Linked DNA regions of Homo sapiens: region 1 is linked to region 2. Evidence: promoter capture Hi-C in 16 types of primary human blood cells and fetal thymus (Javierre and others, 2016). All regions are on one chromosome and are shown on one strand. The core of a region is centred on a gene start or on the middle of the fragment in contact, and the rest is flanking DNA. Distances in the headings are between cores, read along the strand shown. Region 1 overlaps NPC2 (NPC intracellular cholesterol transporter 2). Region 2 holds the start of ABCD4 (ATP binding cassette subfamily D member 4).

What was found. The method cuts DNA at HindIII sites, captures the fragments that hold promoters and counts their contacts. A CHiCAGO score of 5 or more calls a contact.
Region 1: a contact is called between a fragment that was not itself captured here and the fragment with the promoter of ABCD4 in region 2, in 1 of 17 cell types (endothelial precursors). The highest score is 5.8, in endothelial precursors.

What each region holds. Positions count from the first base shown.
Region 1 is chr14:74,484,968-74,490,244 of GRCh38, forward strand. NPC2 (NPC intracellular cholesterol transporter 2) reads right to left here. Exons shown (of 5, transcript NM_006432.5): 2 at 1,362-1,469. Among named protein-coding and RNA genes, the nearest start is that of NPC2, 5.7 kb to the right of the region's middle. RefSeq lists an enhancer at 2,823-4,022. The HindIII fragment of the contact is 2,051 bases long and covers 1,006-3,056 here.
Region 2 is chr14:74,299,926-74,305,778 of GRCh38, forward strand. ABCD4 (ATP binding cassette subfamily D member 4) reads right to left here and starts at 3,009. Exons shown (of 19, transcript NM_005050.4): 1 at 2,950-3,009; 2 at 225-343. The coding sequence starts at 2,987. It also overlaps a transcript of VRTN not described here and the pseudogene SUB1P2. RefSeq lists a silencer at 2,758-2,837 and an enhancer at 3,098-3,457. The HindIII fragment of the contact is 30,195 bases long and covers 2,098-5,853 here.

The DNA.
Region 1 (5,277 bases), core at 781-3,280, 180 kb after region 2:
TGTAACAACAGTGAAAGAGGTAACCCTTTAGCAGGGTAAGATTAGGCTGGATCACAGTAGCTCCCACCTGTAATCCCAGCACTTTGGGAGGCTGAGGCGGGTGGATCATCTGAGGTCAGGAGTTTGAGACCAGCCTGGCCAACATGGAAAAACCCTGTCTCTACTAAAACTACAAAAATTAGCCGGGCGTGGTGGCGCATGCCTGTCATCTCAGCTACTCAAGAGGCTGAGGCGGGAGAATCGCTTGAGCCCAGGAGGCGGAGGTTGCAGTGTGCTGAGATTGCGCCACTGCACTCCAGCCTGGGTGACAGAGCGAGACTCTGTCACAAAAAAAAAAAAAAAAAAAAAAAAAAAAAAGAAATTGGGTAAGATTAGAAAGACATGCAATTCTTTATAAACTTTACCCTCCACATCACAAGATGGCCAGGAGGAATAAAGGTATTAAAAAATGAGGGCAATCAGACTTATGAGTTATTAGGGTATTTTGGAGACCCAGAAAATTGGTTCTGTTTCTTTCCTTCTGTCTGGGTTGGGGATGACTTGTTCAGAAGGCTTTTTTTTTTGGTTTGGAACAATAGAGAGGCCAGGGTATAGTCCAGAGAGGAAACAGGGAGCTAGTACTTAGAGCTGTCTTTAGGCTTATGAACAAAAGATGACAGGAACTTTGAGGTTTCTTATTAGACTGTCTAGTCTAGTTTCACAGGACAGAAAATGAGGAAAAGATTCAAGGAACATGCCCTGCTTAGTAATAAAAGATTTTACATTTGTCTAGATTCTTAAAAATCTCAAAGTGATGTGGTACAAGAAAGCAAAAAGTTCCAATGATATTTCTTGAATATTGGAGAAGAAAGCTCAGATTTCTTGGCTATTTCTTGGGTCCCCAGTGGGTTCCCTAAATCTTAAGGAGGCTGTTAAGTATTAGTTGCACCTTTATTTTCAGGTGGGATGTAGACTTAATAGCTGAAAGGCATTACTGCTTAAAACAACATTTTGGAGGAGTTCCAAAGCTTAAAGAATTGGGGTCCATACTAATACTCTGCAGTCTGTAGCTAAACAGAGCTGACATTCCCATCATAGCCTACTATGCAATATGGGTCAAGACAGAAAAGCCAAGCTGTCTTCTCTAACCTGTGAACACATGGACATCTCCCTGTTTGCTTAAAGGGAGTCTGGGAGCCATGGACCCTGCATGAGAAGGGTGTCCAAGGGCACAGTGAACCCTAGCTTTGCATGAGGTGCAAAAGAAATCATAAAATTCATGACTGCCAATTCCCCTCCCCTCCATTCCCATGCTTATTCCAACACTTGATATTTAGGTTATGCTGTAACATGAATTTGAGTTAAGAGCCACTTTTACGCACTGCTGGTGAAGGTGACATTGACGCTGTAAGACTGTCCTTTGCTCAGCTGGCAGGGTTGGGTGGGGCATGGGCTCACATTCACTTCCTTTATAACTCCATCCACAGAACCTGCAAAAGAAAAATGAATTGGAATAGGAGAATAGGAGGAGAAATAAGCCAGCTAGGCTGCCCACCACCTAATGGGAAGGTGCTCTGCTCTCCCATTTAGGGTCAACTCATTCTCCTCGGACTGTTTCCCAGGATGGAATCTTTAAGAATAATGCCCAATTAGAAGTCAGAATCTTGATTCATCTTGCTGCTAAAATCATAGCCTTTAATTCAGATGATAAAGAAGCTAGTTGGTTTTTTGATCAAGAGAAAGTTAATATTTGTCAAACTAAATAATATCAAGACCATATCCATAAATGATCATATTAAAGGAATTAAACTTCAATCAGAGAAATTCCAAACATTCCTAGAGTCTTATCTCGCATTCTTAATGGTAAGGGTCACAGTTTAAACTTAAACCTTGAAGACGTTTGCTTCAACCTTCCTTTGGATGAAAATATTCCTATTTTCCCTTTCTTTTTCTAGCATATAGATTAGCATGTAAATCTGATGAAAGTTGTTCACTACAGGAACAACTACATTTTTTTTTTTTTTGAGATGGAGTCTTGCTCTGTCACCAGGTTGGAGTGCAGTGGCACAGTCTCAGCTCACTGCAACCTCCACCCCCCGGGTTCAAACCATTCCCTGCCTCAGCCTCCTGAGTAGCTGGGACTACAGGCGAGTGCCATCATGCCCGGCTAAGTTTTTGTATTTTAGTAGAGACAGGGTTTCACTATGTTGGCCAGGATGGTCTTGATCTCCTGACCTCGTGGTCTGCCTGCCTAGGCCTCCCAAAGTGCTAGGATTACAGGCGTGAGTCATTGCACCCTCCCTGTTTTGTTTTTGTGGTTTTTTTTTGTTTTTTTTTTTTGAGACAGGGTCTCACTCTGTCACCCAGGCTAGATGCAATGGCACAATCTCAGCTCACTGCAGCCTCAACCGTCCCAGGCTCAAGTGATCCTCCTACTCCATCCTCCTGAGTAGCTAGAACAATAGGCATGCACCACCACACCCGGCTAATTTTTGTGTTTTGTAGAGACAGGGTTTCACCATGTTGCCCAGGCTGGTCTCAAACTCCTAGGCTCAAGCAATTTGCCCACCTTGGCCTCCCAAAGTCCTGGGATTACAGGCATGAGCCACCGCACCTGGCCAAAAACCGCACTTTATGCGGAAACAGCTAGAAAGCAAATGTAGAGCCTGAAACTCCGCGGAGGAAGATCAGAAATGAATTACAACATCTTTCTACCTCAAGTTCTACATGAGCAAACACTGATTGAGGGAGTCTGCTATTATTGCTTGGAAAGTCTGCCAGATCCCAAAACAGACTGAACCTTTCTTGAATCTGGCTTCAAGAGTTTTTAGTTCCTGAATCATTCATTTTTAGACTCTATGGAAATTGTACCTTGACTAGCAAGAATGAAGGAAAGCAGAGGCATCTGAAGAAAACATCTCACAACAATGGTATTTATCATCCTTGTTTTAGGGGTTAGAAACCAGAAGAGCAAAGATTACTGAGATTTGTCCAAGGTCACATTGCCTGGAAGGGGCAGATCGAAGACTCAATGGGTGGGCCTGACTTGGAAGCCCTTGTTACCGGAACCTGAAAGAAGCTTTAAATACGCAGCCATGTTGATGAATGGAAGGACACCCCAAGGAAATTTGCATCTGAGAACTACTTGAGGACTCTGGATGAAGGTCTGTCTCAAACTCAACTTTTCAGGTTTCTTAATTCAGCATCGCCTCTTTGCCCCTCACCATGATTCTCTTTCTATCGTAGAGGTTCAACCCCTATATCCTCTGTGATTTTCAGTGATGAAGTATCTTCTATCCAGATTTTGTACCCTTTCTCCCAAACTGCTGGTAAATCCTTTGCCCAGTATTTTGTCTTCCTGGAATCCCTTCTTTCTTTCACCCCAACTTGACTTCCTAGAGAAATAAGCAGCACTATTAAAGGTATAGGTAAAACGATGAAAAGTGTCAGAATATCAGTCTTGGCTTTTAAAATTAGGCTGATTCAAGGGTGGGCATGGTGGCTCATGCCTATAATCCCAGCACTTTGGGAGGCCAAGGCAGGTGGATCAAGAGGTTAAGAGTTCGAGACCAGCCTGACCAACATGGTGAAACCTCGTCTCTAATAAAAATACAAAAATTAGCCAGGTATGGTGGTGCTCACCTGTAATCCCAGCTACTCAGGAGGCTGAGGCAGGAGAATCGCTTGAACTGGGGAGGCAGAGGTTGCAGTGAGCCGAGATTGCGCCACTGCACTCCAGCCTGGGTGACAGAGCAAGACTCTGTCTCAAAAAATAAAATAAAATAAAATAAGACTGATTCCAGAAGCCTACTCACTTCCGAGTAAGCAGACTATGGAATTTAAGAGGAACTACCACTTAACACTGAACAGAGGAGTGACCCTAAACAGAAAAACCACCTACCATCTCTGAACTAGGAATGACCCTTAAGAGAGGAACTACCTCCCACTTCTGAATTGGGAACTGCACCATTTTCACTGCACTTCTGCAGTTTCTTCAATGATTTAGTCCTGTTCTTTAAGGCCCACTTATGAGTCATGAAATATTTTGGCTCCAAAAACAACAGGAAGTACCTTAAATCTTGACTAAGGTTGTTAAGATCTGGATTTTTTCCAAGAATCAAGGGGATGAAGAGGAGTACAGAGGTTAAGGTCTTTATAGTTTCAGTACAAGCTTAGGGCACAAGTTAAGCTTAACTCCAAATAGCACTGACTCACACAGCCAAGATGGCAGAAGTGCCAGCTGCATTAAAGAAGAATACTGCTACCTGAGTCTGGGTTTCATTTCCTCTGAAATATTAACTTGGCCTAGGTCTATATAGCTGCTGGGAATGATACACTTGCAAATACTGCATATGTTAAAAACATAAGGATGAGACCTAAGAAGGTACTAGAAAGAGTCAGAAATAGGATTTATCCCTGGGAATCCTCAAAACAAATACATATTTTTCAAAATTAAAAAATTTAAGAAAAGAAATTGGATTCATCTGACTTGTCCAGGTTGTTTCTAAGTAGTTTCAAAAACTGATTTTAAGCACACATCTGCAATCTACAGATGTATACTCGATTTTGGGAACCTGCGTTCTTAAAATAAGTGTGTGTGTGTGTGTCTGTGTGTGTATGTATGTATTTTAATCTCAGTCTAACCAAGGACAAAAGTACTTGTATACAATAAATGCTTGACCAAAAAAGGTTTAAATAAAGCCTTTAAAAATCCCATTTCCTCCTGCCCCAGAGACTGGGCAGTTGAATGGGAGAGAATGCAGGTGAACTGCCTGATAACAGTGCCTGTAACAGGGTAAGTTAAGTTCTGCCATTCAGCCATCATTGCTGAGAGGCAGACTCTGGTGCCGGATGCCTGGGTTTGAAATCTCACTATCTCTGCTACTTACTGTATAGCCTCAAGGCAAGATACTTTACCTCTCTGGAGATAATGGTGTAGCTGAGCTAACACAAATACAGATCTTAGGTAAGTGTTTGGAACATAGTGATACATATATTTACTATTATTATCATATCTGGATTTAGTCCATGAGTTTAATCTAGAATAGCTGCTCCTGGGTAGGTTAGCAAGTTCCCTTCTGACACAAAAACTGGACCTCTCACCTCAAATATACTTTGTGGATAGAAATTATGTTTCTAGCCAATAGGATGGACTCTTTCTGTCTCAAAAGTGGAATGCATGAAGACAGAGGCAAACTGCAGGTTGAGAGTACATTATCTGCTATGCAGTCAGTCACCAGATTAGCTCAGTACTATAAAAGTATGATATGAACTCAGAAATCTAAGTAGATGTTCTTT
Region 2 (5,853 bases), core at 1,759-4,258:
GGTGGTGGGTGCTTGTAATCCCAGCTACTCAGGAGGCGAAGGCAGGAGAATCACTTGAACCAGGGAGGCAGAGGTTGCAGTGAGCTGAGATTATGTCACTGCACTCCAGCCTGGGCAACAAGAGAGAAACTCTGTCTCAAAAAAAAAAAAAAAAAAAAAAAAGATGGAAAGGGACCCCAAACCAGAGCTCCCCTCCCTCCTCTAGTCTGGGCTCACTCACTCACCCAGTAGGGTCAGGCACAAAAGGGTCAGGAACATCAAGGCATTTTGTGATGACCAAGAAGGAAACAAAACCTTCAGTATCTGCAGGAACCGCTGGAGAAATTGCAGATCTAACCTGGGCCTGAAGAGAAGGTGGGGAGGCAGAGAAAAGCCCAAGACAATAATTAAGCCTTAGGGAGTAGTTATTAAGCTCATCCACATTGTTCTGTAGAGGGTCCAGGCCATGCAGAAAGAATGGTTTTCAAATGCTGAAGATGGTAGGCTGGGAACAGACCACGGATACAAAGGAAATTCTTTGGCCAAGCGTGGTGGCTCATGCCTGTAATCCCAGCTACTCGGGAGGCTGAGTCAGGAGAATTGCTTGGACCTGGGAGGCAGAGGTTGCAGTGAGCTGAGATTGCGCCATTGCAACAAGAGCCTGGGCAACAAGAGCAAAACTCCGTCTCAAAAAAAAAAAAAAAACCAAAAACAAAAAACTTAAAAAATTACAAATGGATTAAAAATCTAAACGTGAAAAGTAACACTATCATGTTAATAGAAGGAAATGTAGAAAAATGTCTTAATGAAGATACCTTAAAAACCTATACAGGGGAAAACTGATGAATTTAACTTCATTAGAGTTAAATGTTTTTATTCAACACAGTGCCATAGATTAAGTTAGAAGACTTGGAGGTGGTATCTGCAGAGTGCAAAACCAACAAGGACTTGAAATCTTTATTTTTTTGAGACGGAGTTTTGCTCGTTGCCCAGGCTGGAATGCAACGGCGCAATCTCGGATCACTGCAACCTCCGCCTCCCTGGTTCAAGTGATTCTCCTGTGTCAGCCTCCTGACAAGCTGCAATTACAGGTGCATGCCACCACGCCCGGCTAATTTTTGTATTTTTAGTAGGAGACGGGGTTTCATCATATTGGTCAGGCTGGTCTCGAACTCCTGACCTCCGGTGATCCACCTGCCTCGGCCTCCCAAAGTGCTGGGATTACAGGCGTGAGCCACCGCGCCTGGCCTAAAATCTTTTTTTTTTTTTTTTTGAGACAAGGTCTTGCTCTGTTGCCCAGGCTGGAATGCAGTGGTGCGATCTCAGCTCAGGGCAACCTCTGCCTCCCGGGTTCAAGCGACTGTCCCACCTCAGCCTTTTTAGTGGCTGGGAGTACGGGCGTGCGTCAACACGCTCAGCTAATTTTTGTATTTTTGGTAGAGATGGGGTTTCACCATGTTGCCCAGGCTGATCTTGAACTCCTGGACTCCAGTGGTCCACCTACCTCAGCCTCCCAAAGTGATAGGATGACAGGTGTGAGCCACCGGGCATGGCCAGGATCTAAATCTAGAGCCTACAAGAATTCCTGCAAGCCAGGAACATAGGAAATCCACAGAGAAGTGGGAAGGGATATAAACAGGCAATTCAAAAAAGGGAAAACCCACGTTTAATAAACACATGAAAATGTAGGCCGGGAGCAGTGGCTCACGTCTGTAATTCCTTTATGCACTGCCCGTCGGGAAGTGTAATCCCTGCACTTCGGGAGGCCGAGGCGGGTGGATCACCTGAGGTCAGGAGTTCAAGACCAGACTGGCCAACCCCCCCATCTTTGCTAAAAATACAAAAAATTAGCTGGGTGTGGTGGCGCGCGTCTGTAATCCCAGCTACTCAGGAGGCTGAGGCAGAAGAATCGCTTGAACCCGAGGCGGAGGTTGCAGTGAGCCGAGATCATGCCACTGCATTCCTGCCCGAGCAACAAGAGCAAAACTCCGTCTCAAAAGAAAGAAAGAAAGAAAGAAAGAAAATGTACACGATGGGATACCACCTTACACCCCCCAGACTGATAAACATTACAAAACCAGCCGCCACTGAACGATGGAGGGATACCGGGAAACAGGAAGCTTTATGCACTGCCCGTCGGGAAGTATAAACTAGTGTGACCATTCCAAAGAACAATCCAGCAAAATTAGATATGACCAGGACCCAACTCTGGGGTGGATACCCAGAGAAATGCAACAATATGCACAAGGAGACAACTGCCAGAATATTCGTTACAGTGTGGCTTGTGGGGGTGTTAATACTAGAAAAAAATCTATCCACCACTAGGGGAATAAGTCTATGCACACAGCACCCCTCATGCAAGCACTCAGAAGTGAAAACAAGATGACTAGCATGGATGGACTCAAAAACACAATGTTGAGGAAAAAGGTTTAAAGAAAAATCACAGCATATTATATTGAAGAATTCGAAACCGCTATATAGATTTCAAAGTAACACTTGCACAAATTTACCCAAGGTGGACCGTAAAGCCACTTATATAACACACCAGAGTGGCTGTCTGAAAAGGGGAGTGAAAGGGGTCTGGGAATAGGAACGAAGAGAGGAAGTGATAAAATAAACAAGGAGCCTTGCATTGGCCCACAGGGTGTCAAGAACTGAGAAGGATCAACTCAATTTTGTGCACCTGAGGTTCTTCTTTTCAAAAAAAGAATGCCAGTTGCGAGGGTGAGGGTCCCACACCGCAGGAGATGGCACAAGTCCGGCCAAGAACGGAGGGGGCCGCGGCCGGTGCGGAGCGGCCTAGAGCGGCGGGAGGGCGGACGCCCCTTCGAGAGCTCCTCTTTCTCTCAGAAGTCACGGGGGCGAGACGGGGGCGCCAGGGCGGCGGACGAGGCACGGAGGGCAGGAAAGCCCATTCCCTACAGCCCGGAACTCCTGCTCCCAAACCTCCTCCCCGACCGCCCTGCTTACCTGGCGCCAGCTCCGGGCGCGGGCCCCGCGACCGCCATGACCTGAGACCCGAGGGACTCTGGAGCCCAGCTGCCCCTAGTTCAGTACTGGGTAGAGTCCGAGGAGGGGCGGGGCCCCGGCTACCACAGAGACGGCGTTTGATAGAGAGGAAGGTGCGGGAGACGCGGACTCTCCCGGAAGCGACCGACGTCTCTAAAAGTACCAGAGAGTGGACTCGGCTGACCCGGCGGCTACAGCGCCCCCATATTTTCTGGGAGACTTCCCTTTTGACAATAGGTATCCGAGAGTGTAACTACTTTATGGCAAGTATTTTAGATTCTGTGTATAATAGATGTTTTACATATTCTCCCAGAGAAGCCAGCATGATCTTTAAAAAAGTATAAATTAGGCTTCCAGCCGGGCCCGGTGGGTTACTCCTGTAATCCCAGCACTTTGGAAGGCCAAGGCGGGAGGATCGCTTGAGCCCAGGAATTCAAGACCAGCCTGGGCAACATGGCAAGACCCCGCCTTTACAAAAGACAAAAGCATTAGCCGGGGATGGTGGCGAGCGCCTGTGGTCCGAGCTACTCTGGAGGCTGAGGCAGGAGAATCACTTGGGCCCGGAAGGTCAAGGCTGCAGTGAGCCGTGACTGTGCCACTGCACTCCAGCCTGGGCGACAAAGAGAGACCCTGTCTCAAAAACAAATAAATAGATGATAATGATCGATAGATAAGATAGATAGTTGAATGAATGAAATGCTTATCAGTTGACTGATTAGTACCCAAAGGGAGGTGGGAAATGGCTCAAAAAAAACCCAAACAGCATGATCCCACAGGTCCCTAAATTTGAATCTGGATGTGTCTTCTCACTTTCCTCCAATCCTTATTAAGTTTCAACTGCAAGCCAAACACTCTACAACATGCATGTATCACTTGTCTTTATGAAAGTTGCAGTCTAGCTGGGTAGGTCAATCAGTTGACAATTACAGATTTTTTTTTTTTTTTTTTTTTTTTTGATACGGAGTGTTGCTTTTGTTGCCCCGGCTAGAGTGCAATGGCGCGATATCGGCTCACGGCAACCTCAGCCTCCCGGATTGAAGCCATCCTCCTGCCTCAGCCTCCCGAGTAGCTAGGATTACAGGCATGTGCCACCACGCCCAGCTAATTTAGTATTTTTAGTAGAGACAGGGTTTCTCCATATTGGTCAGGCTGGTCTTGAACTCCTAACCTCAGGTGATCTGCCCGCCTTGGCTTTCCAAAGTGTTGGGATTACAAGAGTGAGCCACCGCTCCTGGCCTTTTTTTGTTTTTGTTTTTGTTTTAGACGGAGTTTCGCTCTTGTGGCTCAGGCTGGAGTGCAATGGTGCTATCTTGGCTCACTGCAACCTGTGCCTCCCGGGTTCAAGCGATTCTCCTGCCTCAGCCTCCCGAGTAGCTGGGATTACAGGCATGCACCACTATACCCGGCTAATTTTGTATTTTTAGTAGAGACGTGGTTTCTCCATGTTGGTCAGGCTGGTCTCGAACTCCCGACCTCAGGTGATCCACCCACCTTGGCCTCTCAAAATGCTGGGATTACAGGTGTGAATCACCGTGCCCGGCCTACAGCTGTCTTTATGAAGTGCTATGACAAACATACCATACAGCAGGGGTTCTCAACTTTGGCGCCATTAAGTTTTGGGGCCTGATCATTCTTTGCTGTGTAGGCTTTCCTATGCAATGTAGGATGTTTAGCTGTATCCCAGGCCTCTACGCACTAGATGCCGGTGGCATTCCTTCTGACCTAGGCATCCCAAAATGTCTCTAAACATTGCCAAATGTCCCTTAGGGGAGAAAGGACCAAAATTCCAGCTTTACCCCACCCCCTAGCATTGAGAACCACTGCCCCAGAACCAAAGAGAAAGGCATTTAACTCAGCATGGGGAAAAGTGGAATCTAGAAAGACTTTGAAGAGGAAATAACTTTATTCAAGTATGTCTTTCTTATTTTGAAAACCAAAAAAATAGGATGCAATTTTTGAAAAATTAATAAGGCAACCAAAGTATTAAAGCAAGCAACGTCACCTCTCTAGGGTAATCTAGGTTTACAGATCTTGTCCCCTTTCAGTCTCAAAAATGTCCTAGTTTGGTATTCGGTGGCATTACTGTCCCAGGGTGCCTCAGCATTGTCTATTACTGTAAACTTTTAAGAAGTAGCAGGCTGGGCACGGTGGCTCACGCCTGTAATCCCAGCGCTTTTGGAGGCCGAAGCAGGCAAATCACCTGAGGTCAGGAGTTCAAGACCAGCCTGGCCAACATGACAAAATCCCGTCTTTACTAAAAGTACAAAAATTAGCCAGGTGTGGTGGCGGGTGCATGTAATCCCAGCTACTTGGGAGGCTGAGGCAGGAGAATTACTTGAACCCAGGAGGCGGAGGTTGCATTGAACTGAGATTGTGCCATTGTACTCCAGCCTGGGTGACAAGAGTGAGACTGTTTCAAAAAAAAAAAAAAAAAAGAAGAAGAAGAAGTAATACACCAGAGTTACCAGTGAGCAAGCGGGAGGCTACTGGAGTGCAGCAGAGCAGAGTAATGCCCAAATCAAAGGAACTTACTTCTTCAAGCTCTTCTGGCAGCGGTTCTGACAGTGATGTTGACAAAAAGTTAAAGAGGAAAAAGCAGGTTGCTCCAGAAAGACCTGTAAAGAAGCAAAAGACTGGTGAAACTTGAAGAGCTCTATCATCTTCCAAAGAGAACAGCAGCAGCAGCACAGATGATAACATGATGTTTCAGGTTAGGAAAATGAGGTACATTAGTGTTTGGGATTTTTTTTTAGACTTGTCCCCCAAGGCTGGAGCGCAATGGCACGATCTTGGCTCACTGCAACCTCTGCCTCCCAGGTTCAAGCAATTCTCCTGCCTCAGCCTCCTGAGTAGCTGAGACTGCAG